2 separate regions of the Homo sapiens genome follow, and region 2 is linked to region 1. Evidence: promoter capture Hi-C in human tissues and cell types (Jung and others, 2019). All regions are on one chromosome and are shown on one strand. The core of a region is centred on a gene start or on the middle of the fragment in contact, and the rest is flanking DNA. Distances in the headings are between cores, read along the strand shown.

Region 1 (5,773 bases), core at 1,893-4,392:
ACTCCTCTTGGGACACTTTCTTTCTTTTTTTTTTTTAAAATAGAGATTAAGGTCTCACTCTGCTGACCAAGCTGGTCTCAAACTCCTGAGCTCAAGGAGTTTGCCTTGACCTCCCAAAGTGCTGGGATTACAGGTGTGAGCCACCACGCCCAGCAGACATTTTTCTCTTGTGCCTGGGTTTATGGTGATTGTATACATGTGTGTCTGGCTCCCAGAGGGTGGGGACGGAGTGATACAAATTTTTGTGCCTCCACAGGGAACTTGCACGTGACCTAAATTCAATGACAAATTGGGGTTTGATTGAAAATGTGGAGGGGTGGAAATTTTCAATTCCACTGACCCCAGATGGGAGGATCTGAGCCCCTTTCCTTTAAACACCATCTTTCTCTGCAGCAGCTTTCAGGGCCAATAGTTACCATCACCAGGAATTCCAGACCAGCACAATAAATAGGGGCTGTGGTTTCTCCCTCTTTCTCCTTCAAAAAGTAACAGAAAAAAAATTAGCCGGGCATGGTTGCATGTTCTTGTTGTCCAAGCTACTGAGGAGGCTAAGGTGGGAGGATCACTTGAGCCCGGGAGGTCGAGGCTTCAGGGAGCCATGATCATACCATTGCACTCCAGCCTGGGCAACAGAGTGAGACCCTGTCTCGGAAAAAACAAAAAAACAGTAATGGAATATGGGCCAGGTATGTTGATTTGAACTGGAGTTTTACTGCTTCCCAGCAGTGTGACATTGAGCAAGTGTGGTAACCTCTACGAGCCAAATGGAGCTGGCATCAGCTGCCTCACCAAACAGGATTTACGGGAAAGGCTGGCGTGGAGCTGGGGCCCTGGGAGGCAGGTAGTTAGAATCCGTTTAAAGATTTTGCCTCAATTGCCTCCAGCTGCTGCTGTGCTTACAAGGCACACAAGTGCTCCCCCTCTGATCCCTCAGCAGGCAAAGACCAGACTCTGGAACACACCTACAGTGCTGCCTCTGGCCAGGCCTCTGAGATATGAGTCCAACATGCAGAGAAAGGGGCAAGTCCTTGGTGGGGGGAGGGGGACAGCAATTTCATTACCGCCATTTCAGAGGTGGCAGTATGGGTGGCTGACATACGTAAGTCTGATTGTTTGGACCAGAAGGATCTTCAGGGGTCCAGTCTTCCAGTTTACAGGTGTGGACATTGAGATCCAGGCACCTGATAATACCAGGTTGGCAGGAAAGTCAAATGCCAGAGGCTTCCATGGTCTCTACTTGTGTTTGGAGCAACAGAATTCTGAACAGAGTCAAAGGGATAAGGGGTCTTTCTGGCACAAGCTGGCCCAAGACCAGGCCTTTGACAGAGGCCTCAGACTCTGGGGGGCCCAAAAGCAGCCCTCCCTTGGGCTCAGCCTTCTGGATCCCATGGCCAGAGTAGTAGTTCTGCCGGCTAGGACTTGGTGAGGGGAGCTTTGAAGTCACTAGTTGAAGGTCACCTTCCTGGTCCAGCTCCACCTGGCAATGTTGACTGTGAGGTAGTGGAGGGGAGGGCTGAGAACACAGAAGAGAAAGGTTGCTCCTATTTGGAGTGAATTAGCGTGACTGGGAAAGCAGAGAAGGGAAAGAGGTCAGGTTTTTCCAAATAAAACCCAGCCCTCAGCTGGTGTCTTAGTTTAAGAAAACAGATGAAGAGAGAAACTTTGTTTGTGGCAGAATCAATTACAACTGTCTTTTGTGGCCAGGTGCAGTGGCTCACACCTGTAATCCCAGTGCTTTGCGAGGCCGAGGCGGGAGGATCATTTAAGCTTAGGAGCTGGAGACCAGCCTGGGCAACATAGTGAGATCCCCCCATCTCTATTTTTAATTAAAACAAACAAACAAACCCATCTTTTATATGCAAACAGGCAAAAATGGAACTGTTTCTACTGTGGCTGTTTGACTACTCTAGGGTCTCAGAAAACAACACCCCAAAATGCAGGCCTCAGGAGCAGCTCTCTCTGACCCTCTCCCTCCCTCCTGTCTTTGGCCCCTCACTCTCCTCCGAGGCCAGCCATAGAAACTGGAATCCTTCTTCCTCAAGGCAGGTCATAGAAACCAGAGCCCTTCTCCCCCAAAGCCAGACATCGAACCCAAAAATATTACTCTTTCTCCCACACATTTCTGGGTAAAAACTGGCCATAAATTATCTGACCTACCTTGTTTGCTTGCAGGTCCTAAGACCCCTCCATCCCAGAGAGAGTCCTGCCCCGTACTCAGAAGGAAGGAATGCTGCAGAGAAAGGTCAAGAAGAATCTACACGGACAGGACTTGCTGGGTTTCCCCACTCAGGTTATTGGCCTTCTGGTCCAATCATATTTCTTTTTTCGTGGTTTTTTTTTTTTTTTTTTGAGACGGAGTCTCACTCTGTTGCCCAGGCTGGAGTGCAGTGGCATGATCTCAGCTCACTGCAATCTCTGCCTCTCAGGTTCAAGTGATTCTCCCGCCTCAGCCTCCTGAGTAGCTGGGATTACAGGCGCGCGCCACCATGCCCGATCAATTTTTGTATTTTTAGTAGAGACAGGGGTTTCATTATGTTAGCCAGCCTGGTCTCGAACTCCTGACTTCAAGTGATCCGCCTGCCTCGACCTCCCAAAAGTTCTAGGATTACAGACGTGAGCCACCGCGCCCGGCCCAAAGTGAGATTTCAACTCTCTCTACACCAGCTGGACCTGACAGCGGACTCGCGGAGGCGCAGACGCCGCCGGCGGTCTTAGCTCAAGAATGAAGCAGCCGCACTGGGCTAATGCGCCTTTGGGTTCAGCCCGGCAGGCGAGGGAAGCAAGAGTTCGCTCAGATTGGCTTTTGGGTTTAAGCTAAAGCGTCAGAAACTGACATCCAGGTTTACATGGGGCATCCTGGAGAGGGTCAGCCTCGCAAGCGGCTCTGCTAATCCCCCAGCCCTGATCCCGCTCGCGGGTCCCGGTGGGTCTCACGCCTGTAGCTCCTGCGGAGCTGGGCTTTCAGCGGCGCCCAGAGAAGCACCAGCCGGGCCTGGCCGCCGGGTCCCGGCTCCCGCGGGACGCTGGAGGCGTCGGCGGCCCTGGCCCCGCCTCCTCCCCGGCAAGGCCCAATGGGGCGGCAGGCCCGGCAGCCCCGCCCCGGTGGTGCCCGCGCGGCCAGCGCCCGCCAGGCCCAGCGTTAGCCCGCGGCCAGGCAGCCGGGAGGAGCGGCGCGCGCTCGGACCTCTCCCGCCCTGCTCGTTCGCTCTCCAGCTTGGGATGGCCGGCTACCTGCGGGTCGTGCGCTCGCTCTGCAGAGCCTCAGGCTCGCGGCCGGCCTGGGCGCCGGCGGCCCTGACAGCCCCCACCTCGCAAGAGCAGCCGCGGCGCCACTGTGAGTGCCGCGCGGAGGGTCCAGGCAGGCGCGCGCCCCCAGCTGCGACGTGGCGGCTTCCCAGGCTGGGGCCGGGAAGCACGTCCCGCCAGCCCGCAGCCCGGGGACGGCGGGGTCAGGCGCACAAAGGGCCGCGGGGCAGCTTCGCTCCGCGCTCCCCCGCCCGGCGCTTCCCGGCCGTGCCAGGCGCTGGGGTGGGGACTTGAGGGACGGTGGCAACTGGTGGCCCGGGCGACGGCCAGCTCTGCGCGGGCGGGGGCTCGGGGCTGCCGCGCGCCCCTAGGTATTTCGGGAGGGGGTCCTGAGAGTGTCCCGGACCCGAAGGGTGGCCTGCCCGCCCTGCGCCCCTGGAACGAGACGAGCACCCGTGGGGGGCTGGAGCACCCCGCGCGCTCCCCTGGCGAGAGGGAGGGTCGTGGCTCGGCCCCTGCTCAGACAAAGGCTGGGAGGCGGGAGACATGCACTTCCCCTTCCTTTTCAGCCAGGCGCGCGCTGATACCAGGCCCACGTCAGCTATTTTTGGAGCCTTTTACACGACAGCTGGAGGAGCGTCCTTTTTAATTTTCCCCTTTTGTTTGGCCGCCCCCACCCCCACCCCTTCGCCTTCATCGCTGCACTTGAGGCTCCATCCTGGGGCCTCTCCTTGACTTGACCTGCCTTGGCAGGCACATGCCCTCCCTGCCTGGCTCACTCGCCGCAGAGACCTGGCAGCCCGCGCAAAATGTCACTTTGCGGAATCGTTCCCACGGCTTCTGGGTACCCTTAGTTCCCTGCTTAGGAGGGAAGACAGTAGTCGGGTCGTAATAAGCAAGACTTAGCCCGAGCCTCCGTTGCCAACGCAGGCTGCCTTGCTTGGCGTGTGGGCATCGGCCTGCCCCCTCACCCTGGCTACCCAACACAGCTACAAAAGGCAGGGAACAATGTAGGTCCCTTGGCCCTGCCTAATGCCTGTTGCCATGGAAACCCCTATCCTAATCTGGCCAGGAGCCCCTTGCAGTGAGCCAGGAGAGTGAGGAAGAGGGGATGGGGCCCGCTGGCCCTGACCTGGCCAGAGGAGGTAATGGTTAACCGGATTGTGGGAGCAGCTGACTAGAGCCGGGGGGGTAGGGAGGCTTGGGCCCCAGTCCTACCTTCCCTGCCAAGGAGAAAGGGGCATGTCTGCTTTTGTACCTCTGGGAATCTACCTCAGGGATCTGCCCAACAACTCCCAGGTTCCAAGTGCCCCAGGACCCAAAGATTCCCATATAGCACACCACCTTCAGCAAAAATATGGTGGAAGTTAGCCACATTCTTTAATTCTCCCTTTTTTTCTGCCTTGATGGTAAAAAAAAAAAAAAGAAACAAACAACCCGAAAAACACACACAAACAGGAACACAAAGCGCCTTTTAAGGGTCCTGAATTTGGATACAGAAAAAGCAGTCAGTTGCAGGCCCTTCTAGAAGTCCCCATGTGGGTTGGTTATGAATGGGGAAATTGCTTGGTGTTGGAGTTGGACATCAGACTCTACAGTTGCGACTCTGCCAGCTTGTTACCTGGCAACGCAGCTGGAGACAGAATACTTGGCATTCCCCTTGATGACAAGGAAAGAATATTTTGGGGCTAAAAGAGCCCCGTGTCTTTGCTGCCTGGTAATTCCTGCACGCATCTTTTCCTATTTTGCAACGCCATAGGCTTCCAGCGACTGCTGGTGATGTTTCTGGTAAGTTAGAGCTTGGGGCAGTGCGGACCAGTTCTGTGAACGGCTCAGTGGCAGAATTACTTATCTAGCCTTCCTTCACTCCTAACCCAGAAACTTCTTAATTCTTGCCCCTTAAGTGTGCAGATCTTTCTGCCACGTCAGATAAGGCCCTAGCTGCCCTGCCAGAGCTGATTGGGGTGGTTGTGTTTAGGCCTAGTAGGTACTGAGGAAAAGCCTCTTTGGAATGGCTGAGGCCTGCTCCCACATCTTCTGTGTGAAGTTGAGGGCCCTTGGGCTGGTTCCATTCAGGGTATGAGGTGCTGGAAACTGCTCTCAGATTACTGGAAGCCAGGGTCTGTGGCCTTCCCTGGGGTTTATACTCTGTAAACCCATGTTAAAAATACCAGCAGATTGCAAATATTAGTACACTGTAGGTTGTAAGCTTCTTCAGGGCATGGGGCCTATTGCTGGAGAGAGATGCCACCCGTGTACATCTGGTGCAGGCTGCTGGTAAGAACTCACTGGCCCCTGTGTGGCAATGCATACCAGATGGGTGAGAGGGGAGGAAACACATTCAGTGAAACAGAAGGTGAGGGCAGGGCAGCCCTGACCACAGATGGAGTTGACTTCAACTTGACCTTTATTTATGTCTTTGACAAAAGTAGTATACTCCTACTTTGTGCCAGACACCATGCCGGGTGCTGGGGATAGAGCTGGGAATAAAACCAGCAGAGACTCTTTCAAAACCCTTAGGAGCTCA
Region 2 (5,773 bases), core at 2,245-4,744, 570 kb before region 1:
AACTTCTAGCCTGACCGATTATGAAAAAAACAAAACAAAACAAAATACAAATTGCTGATATCAGAAATGAGAGAGGAGACATCACTACAGATTCCATAGATATTGAAAGGATAACAAGGGAACATTATAAACAACTTTATGCCAACAGATTCAATAACTTAGATGAAATGGATAAATTCTTGAAAAACTTAAGAGCTTACTCATGAAGAAATAGGTCATTTGAATAGCCTAATGTTAATTAAAGAAATTGAATTTATAGTTAAAAACCTTGTCACAGGCTGGGCATGGTGGCTTACACCTGTAATCCCAGCACTTTGGGAGGCCAAGGTGGATGGATCACTCAAGGTCAGGAGTTCAAGACCAGCCTGGCCAACATGGTGAAACCCTGTGTCTACTAAAAATACAAAAAATAATTAGCTAAGTATGGTGGCCTTTGCCTGTAGTCCCAGTTACTTGGGAGGCTGAGGCAGGAGAATTGCTTGAATCCAGGAGGCAGAGGTTGCAGTGAGCTGAGATTATGCCACTGCACTCCTGGGCAACAGAGTGAGACTCTGTCTCAAAAAAGAAAACAACAACAACCTTGTCACAAAGAAAACTCCAGGCCCACAATCTAAGACAGTAAACTGTGCCCAGCACAGGGTGGGAGGAGAGTGCTAGCAGCACAGCTTGGAAGGCAGGCAGCTCCTCTGGCTATGAAGTCGAGTTCACTTCCAGGCTAACTTGGACATATTGCAAAGAGATGTTTGATAAATTTGAAACTACAGTTAAATGGCAGCTAACAGCCTCTCACCCATCTTTCCCTAAGGAAGTACTTCAAGATGTCCAACAATCCAGTAGGGCTTTCATTTTATTTTCTTGACTCAAATGTGAGCCTGGTGGGTAGACGCATCTGAGCATTGACTTGTTAAGAAAAACTAACCTGGCCGGGCGCGGTGGCTGATGCCTGTAATCCCAGCACTTTGGGAGGCCGAGGCAGGCAGATCATGAGGTCAGGATATCGAGACCATCCTGGCTAACACAGTGAAACTCCGACTCTACTAAAAATATTAAAAAAAAAAAAAATAGCCAGGCATGGTGGTGGGTGCCTGTAGTCCCAGCTACTTGGGAGGTTGAGGCAGGAGAATGGCGTGAACCCAGGAGGCAGACTTGCAGTGAGCCGAGATCGCGCCACTGCACTCCAGCCTGGGAGACAGAGCGAGACTCCATCTCAAAAAAAAAAAAAAAAAAAAGAAAGAAAGAAAAAAGAGAAACTAACCCACACGGTAAAATAGACTTCTGCAGCTCACCAGCCAGCTAATACCAAACCTGATAACAACACACTGGTGTGGCCACAACTTTACTCCCGTTTTAAATGGCAATCCCTCCTCACCTGAATATTGGTGAAACCTTGGCTAGGAACAGCTTGGAGGCGTCAGTCCTAGTCCAGGCCCCTTTGTCATTATCCTGTGGTTTGTTCACTGACAGGTTTCTGTGTCCTAAGATAGCCACCCATTGGACTTGTCACCGTGTCTACGCTAACATATTAATGACCTAAGCTTTTGGTCTCGGTCTCTGCAATTGCTTGTATTTGTATCTCTAAAGTACAGTTCTCATCTCTCTTTTGTTGCTTTCATGATTTCTCTATTTGTTACTGCAATGTTGCAGTGCAGCCTGTTCACCCACCTGCAATGCACTGCACCACGGAACGCCCTCCTCTCTGGGCCAGCATGGTGGGAGGCGTGGGAAGGAAAGATCCCAGACTCAAGGGAGCAGGGAGCAGGTACTTAAGGGCAGGGAGAAGGGATGCAGTCAGAGATGAATGCTCTTAGTAATGTTTTCTTTAAACTAGATGATAGGGACATGGGTGTTTTGCATTATTTATGCCTTTTTGTATATTATATTTAATAATCACTTTTTTTTTTTGAGACGGAGTTTCGCTCTTGTTTGCCCAGGCTGGAGTGCAATGGCGCGATCTTGGCTCACCACAACCTCTGCCTCCCAGGTTCAAGTGATTCTCCTGCCTCAGCCTCCCGAGTAGCTGAGATTATAGGCATGCACCACTACGCCCGGCTAATTTTGTATTTTTGGTAGAGACGGGGTTTCTCCATGTTGGTCAGGCTGGTCTCAAACTCCCGACTTCAGGTGATCCGCCCGCCTCGGCCTCCCAAAGTGCTGGGATTACAGGCGTGAGCCACCGAGCCCAGCCCACTTTTTTAATAAAAAGAAAAGTCAGTATACATGAATATTAAAAACATAGTGCTGGGCAAAATTCACACCATCCTGTAGTGCAGAGCCCCCCTCTCCTTCCAGGGTAGCCATGAGATGAATAGTGACACCTTAGACTGGGCCCTTCACTGCTGCTGGACTCTTTTTGCAAATGGGGTCAGAGTCCTGGGAAATGCAGCCTTGGTGCAGAGAATAACGCTTGGGCATTTTGTGTGTATTCTCAGGTTGCAGATACCACAGACTCTGTCAAGAAGTGTGTTGGGGGCCAGGCGTGGTGACTCATGCCTGTAATCCCAGCACTTTGGGAGGCTGAGGTGGGAGAATTGCTTGATCCCAGAGGTCAAGTCTGTATAAGCCATGATCATGCCGGTACTCCAGCCTTGGAGACAGAGTGAGACCCTCTCTCAGAAGAAAAAAAAAAAGAAGTATGTTGAGGCTTCTCATTGCTCTGAAAAGGGAGTTCATGATAAACATGTTTGGGCTGGGGAAAAAAAAAAACAAGCACATAAACAAAATAAAAAACCCAACCCTTGTCCCTTGGTCTTTGAGTGACCAGTGATATTCCATCGCCGTGGAAGAAGAGAAGATGAATACTGGGGGAACACCCACAGTGCCTGTGACGCTTCCTACCAGCCTGCTCTACCTCCCTGGCCGGCTCTTTCTCCCTTCCTCCTACCAGCTTTTCTAAACCTTCTGTCAGCTCAGCATCCCTCCCATCCCTCTGCCATCACTAACCCCTCTCTTCCTATTGCACAGAACAAAGAGAATCCATCAGATGAGAGTTCCTTCAACTTCCTGATCTCTCCCTCCCAGCCCTCACCAGACACCCTGCTTGAATGCTCACCCCTTTCTCTCGAAGGCCAGTCCCTGCTCCTGGGCTCTCAATCCCACCCCTCCTATTGGCCTAGAACCGCAAAACCAGGTCTCTCCCACTGTCTCCAGACTCTCTGCCCACAGTGTGTCAGCATTTAAATATGCTCGTCTTTTCCATGAAAGGTGTTCCCTGGGGCCAGGCGCGGTGGCTCACACCTGTAATCCCTGCACTTTGGGAGGCCGAGGTGGGCGGATCTCTTGAGGTCAGGAGTTCGAGACCAGCCTGGCCAATGTGGTGAAACCCCATCTCTACTAACAATACAAAAATTAGGTGTGGTGGCACACGCCCGTAGTCCCAGTTACTAGGGAGTCTGAGGCGGGAGAATCGCTTGAACCCGCGAGGTGGAGGTTGCAGTGAGCTGAGATCATACCACTGCACTCCAGCTTTGGCGGCAGAGCAAGACTCTGAAGAAAGAGGGAGGGAGGGAAGGAAGGAAGGAGGGAAGGAAGGAAGGAGGGAAGGAAGGAAGGAAGGAAGGAAGGAAGGAAGGAAGGAAGGAAGGAAGGAAGGGCGGGCTCCCTGGACTCCATCTCCCCCTCCTGCCACCTGTCTCTCCGCTCTCCTTCGGCGTAAGCCAGGAAGCGCTCCCTTCTCTATGTCCACCACTTTTTCAGTTTCTTTAAAATAAGAAATGTGGTGGAAATGTCAAGACACCAAGAAACCTATACACCAGTCCTAAGGGTTCATTCTACTTTCCTTTTTCTCTCTACAACATCATACAGCCCTGGTTATTTCTACAGTGGCTTTAGTCCTCTCCTTTGGTGTACTTTACAAAAATATATCCAGGGAGAACTGGATTCTCCATCCTCTTGGGGAACCGACAGAGTATCCACAACCAGTCTATTTCAAAGGGAGGGGGTTGGGCTTGATGAGGTGGCTCACTCCTGTAATCCCAGCACTTTGGGAGGCTGAGGCGGGAAGATCCATTGAGCCCAGGAGTTCAAGACCAGCCTGGGGAACATGGCGAAATCCCATCTCTACAAAAAAATACACAAATTAGCCAGGTGTGATGGCGTGCACTTGTAGTCCCAGCTACTCAGGAGGCTGAGGAGGGAGGATCACCTAAGCCTGGGAGTTCGAGGTTGCAGGGAGTTAAGCCATGATCGTGCCACTGCGCTCCAGCCTGTCTGAGACACTGTCTCAACAAACAAGCAAACAAATGAAACAAAAGGAAGGAACCTGAACCTCTTTACATCTTCTTTTGGGAGCAGCGATAATCAGCAATGACGTGTTCCAATCATAATTCCATTTCCTCATTTAAGGCAGAACCCTCTCTGTTCAGTAATTGGCACAATTTGAGGACAAGAGTTATCCTAGGAACTTTCAGAAAAAGAACCCATATTAATTTTGTAACAAAGATGTAAAATGTGTCTTTGTGAGAAAGGGGCATACAGATTTTGGTGGGACTTTGAATCATACGCAGTCATAATTTGTTTTATCCTTTTTTCCAGAAAAATATGCAAAACAAAATAGCTGTGTGATGGTACTACAGGGTCTTTGGGCTTTTGGAGGAGAATATAACCAAAGGGCTCCCAGGACAGCGTCATGTTCAAGTGTCTAGAAAGTTTCATATGCACTCTGTGCTTTACTTTCTCATCACCTATTTTAGTCCATTCAGGTTGCTTTAGACTCCCATAGGCTTATAAACAACAGAAATGCACTTTCTCACATTCTGGAGTCTGGAATGAGATTGTGGTGCCAGCATGGTTGAGTTCTGGCAAGGGATGTCTTCTGGGTTGCAGATGGCCGAATTTTCTTTGTATCCTCATGTGATGGGGAGAGAGAGACAGAGTGAACTCTCTGGGGTCCTTTCATGGGGTAGTAATCTCACTGCTGGGGGCTCTTAGCTCATGACCTAATCACCTTCTAAAGGCTCACCTCCTAATACCATCACCTTGGGGGTTAGGATTTCAACAGATGAATCTGGGGAGGGGATACACATATTCAATCCACGGCACCTGTTCACTCTTCCCCCATCTGCAGTCCGACATCTGCCATCTTCCTTGTCACTAGACCCAGTGGACTCCCCATCATACTTGGCTTCCCAGCACCACCTGGCGTTTGGGGCCTCTTCTTCCTTGAAATCTCCCTTTACCCCACGTCTGTGACCCACACTTCCCAGGCAGCTCACACCCAGGCCTTAGCGGGGGTAGGCCCTCTTCCCTTCTCCCTCCACCCCAGTGTGGGACTTCATTCACTCCGTCATCTTTTTGGACAGTTCAATTAGGGGCTCCCAAGCCACTGGAAATCCAGGTGAGCCATGGATCTTGGAATTCCAAGGCCTCCCTGGGGTTTTGCTGTGATTCCCAGGGACTCTGGCCTCGTCTCCTCTTGGGATCTGACTTCCTGTGTGCTGCCTCTCTGTCTACTCCAGGTTCTGAAGGAAAACTCAACTTTGTCTTTGGTTCCCCCACAACATTTAATCACACCCCACTGTGGGGTCATTAGACTTTGCCAGAGGTCTTGGGGGCTGTCTAGGCAGGGGTCTTACCAGGACTGGCACAGCCTCTGCCATCTTGCTTCTTGCCTCCACCTCAGCTCCTCTCCCACTTTACCTTTCATTTTACTGCTGCAACTCCAAAGTCCTCCCTATTGTCTGAAGCATCTTCCCTCCTCTGAATCTTGAGATCGGCTGACACCCCGGCCCTCCAGAAGTGGGCGTTTCACCTTCCAAAGCAAGCTCTTAGCACGATT

The links. The method cuts DNA at HindIII sites, captures the fragments that hold promoters and counts their contacts. A contact is called where the count stands out against the background at its distance.
Region 2: a contact is called between a fragment that was not itself captured here and the fragment with the promoter of IDH2 in region 1, in 1 of the 25 tissues and cell types used here (spleen).

Annotation. Positions count from the first base shown.
Region 1 is chr15:90,099,837-90,105,609 of GRCh38, reverse strand. IDH2 (isocitrate dehydrogenase (NADP(+)) 2) reads left to right here and starts at 3,142. Exons shown (of 11, transcript NM_002168.4): 1 at 3,142-3,334. The coding sequence starts at 3,220. IDH2-DT (IDH2 divergent transcript) reads right to left here and starts at 3,478. Exons shown (of 3, transcript NR_149130.1): 1 at 3,232-3,478; 2 at 2,158-2,230. RefSeq lists silencers at 2,932-3,391, 3,712-3,781, 4,272-4,361, 4,422-4,471 and enhancers at 3,006-3,860, 3,861-4,716. The HindIII fragment of the contact is 13,716 bases long and covers 1-5,773 here.
Region 2 is chr15:90,671,358-90,677,130 of GRCh38, reverse strand. All of the region lies in intron 2 of CRTC3-AS1 (CRTC3 antisense RNA 1), which reads left to right. Among named protein-coding and RNA genes, the nearest start is that of LINC01585, 14 kb to the right of the region's middle. The HindIII fragment of the contact is 6,170 bases long and covers 410-5,773 here.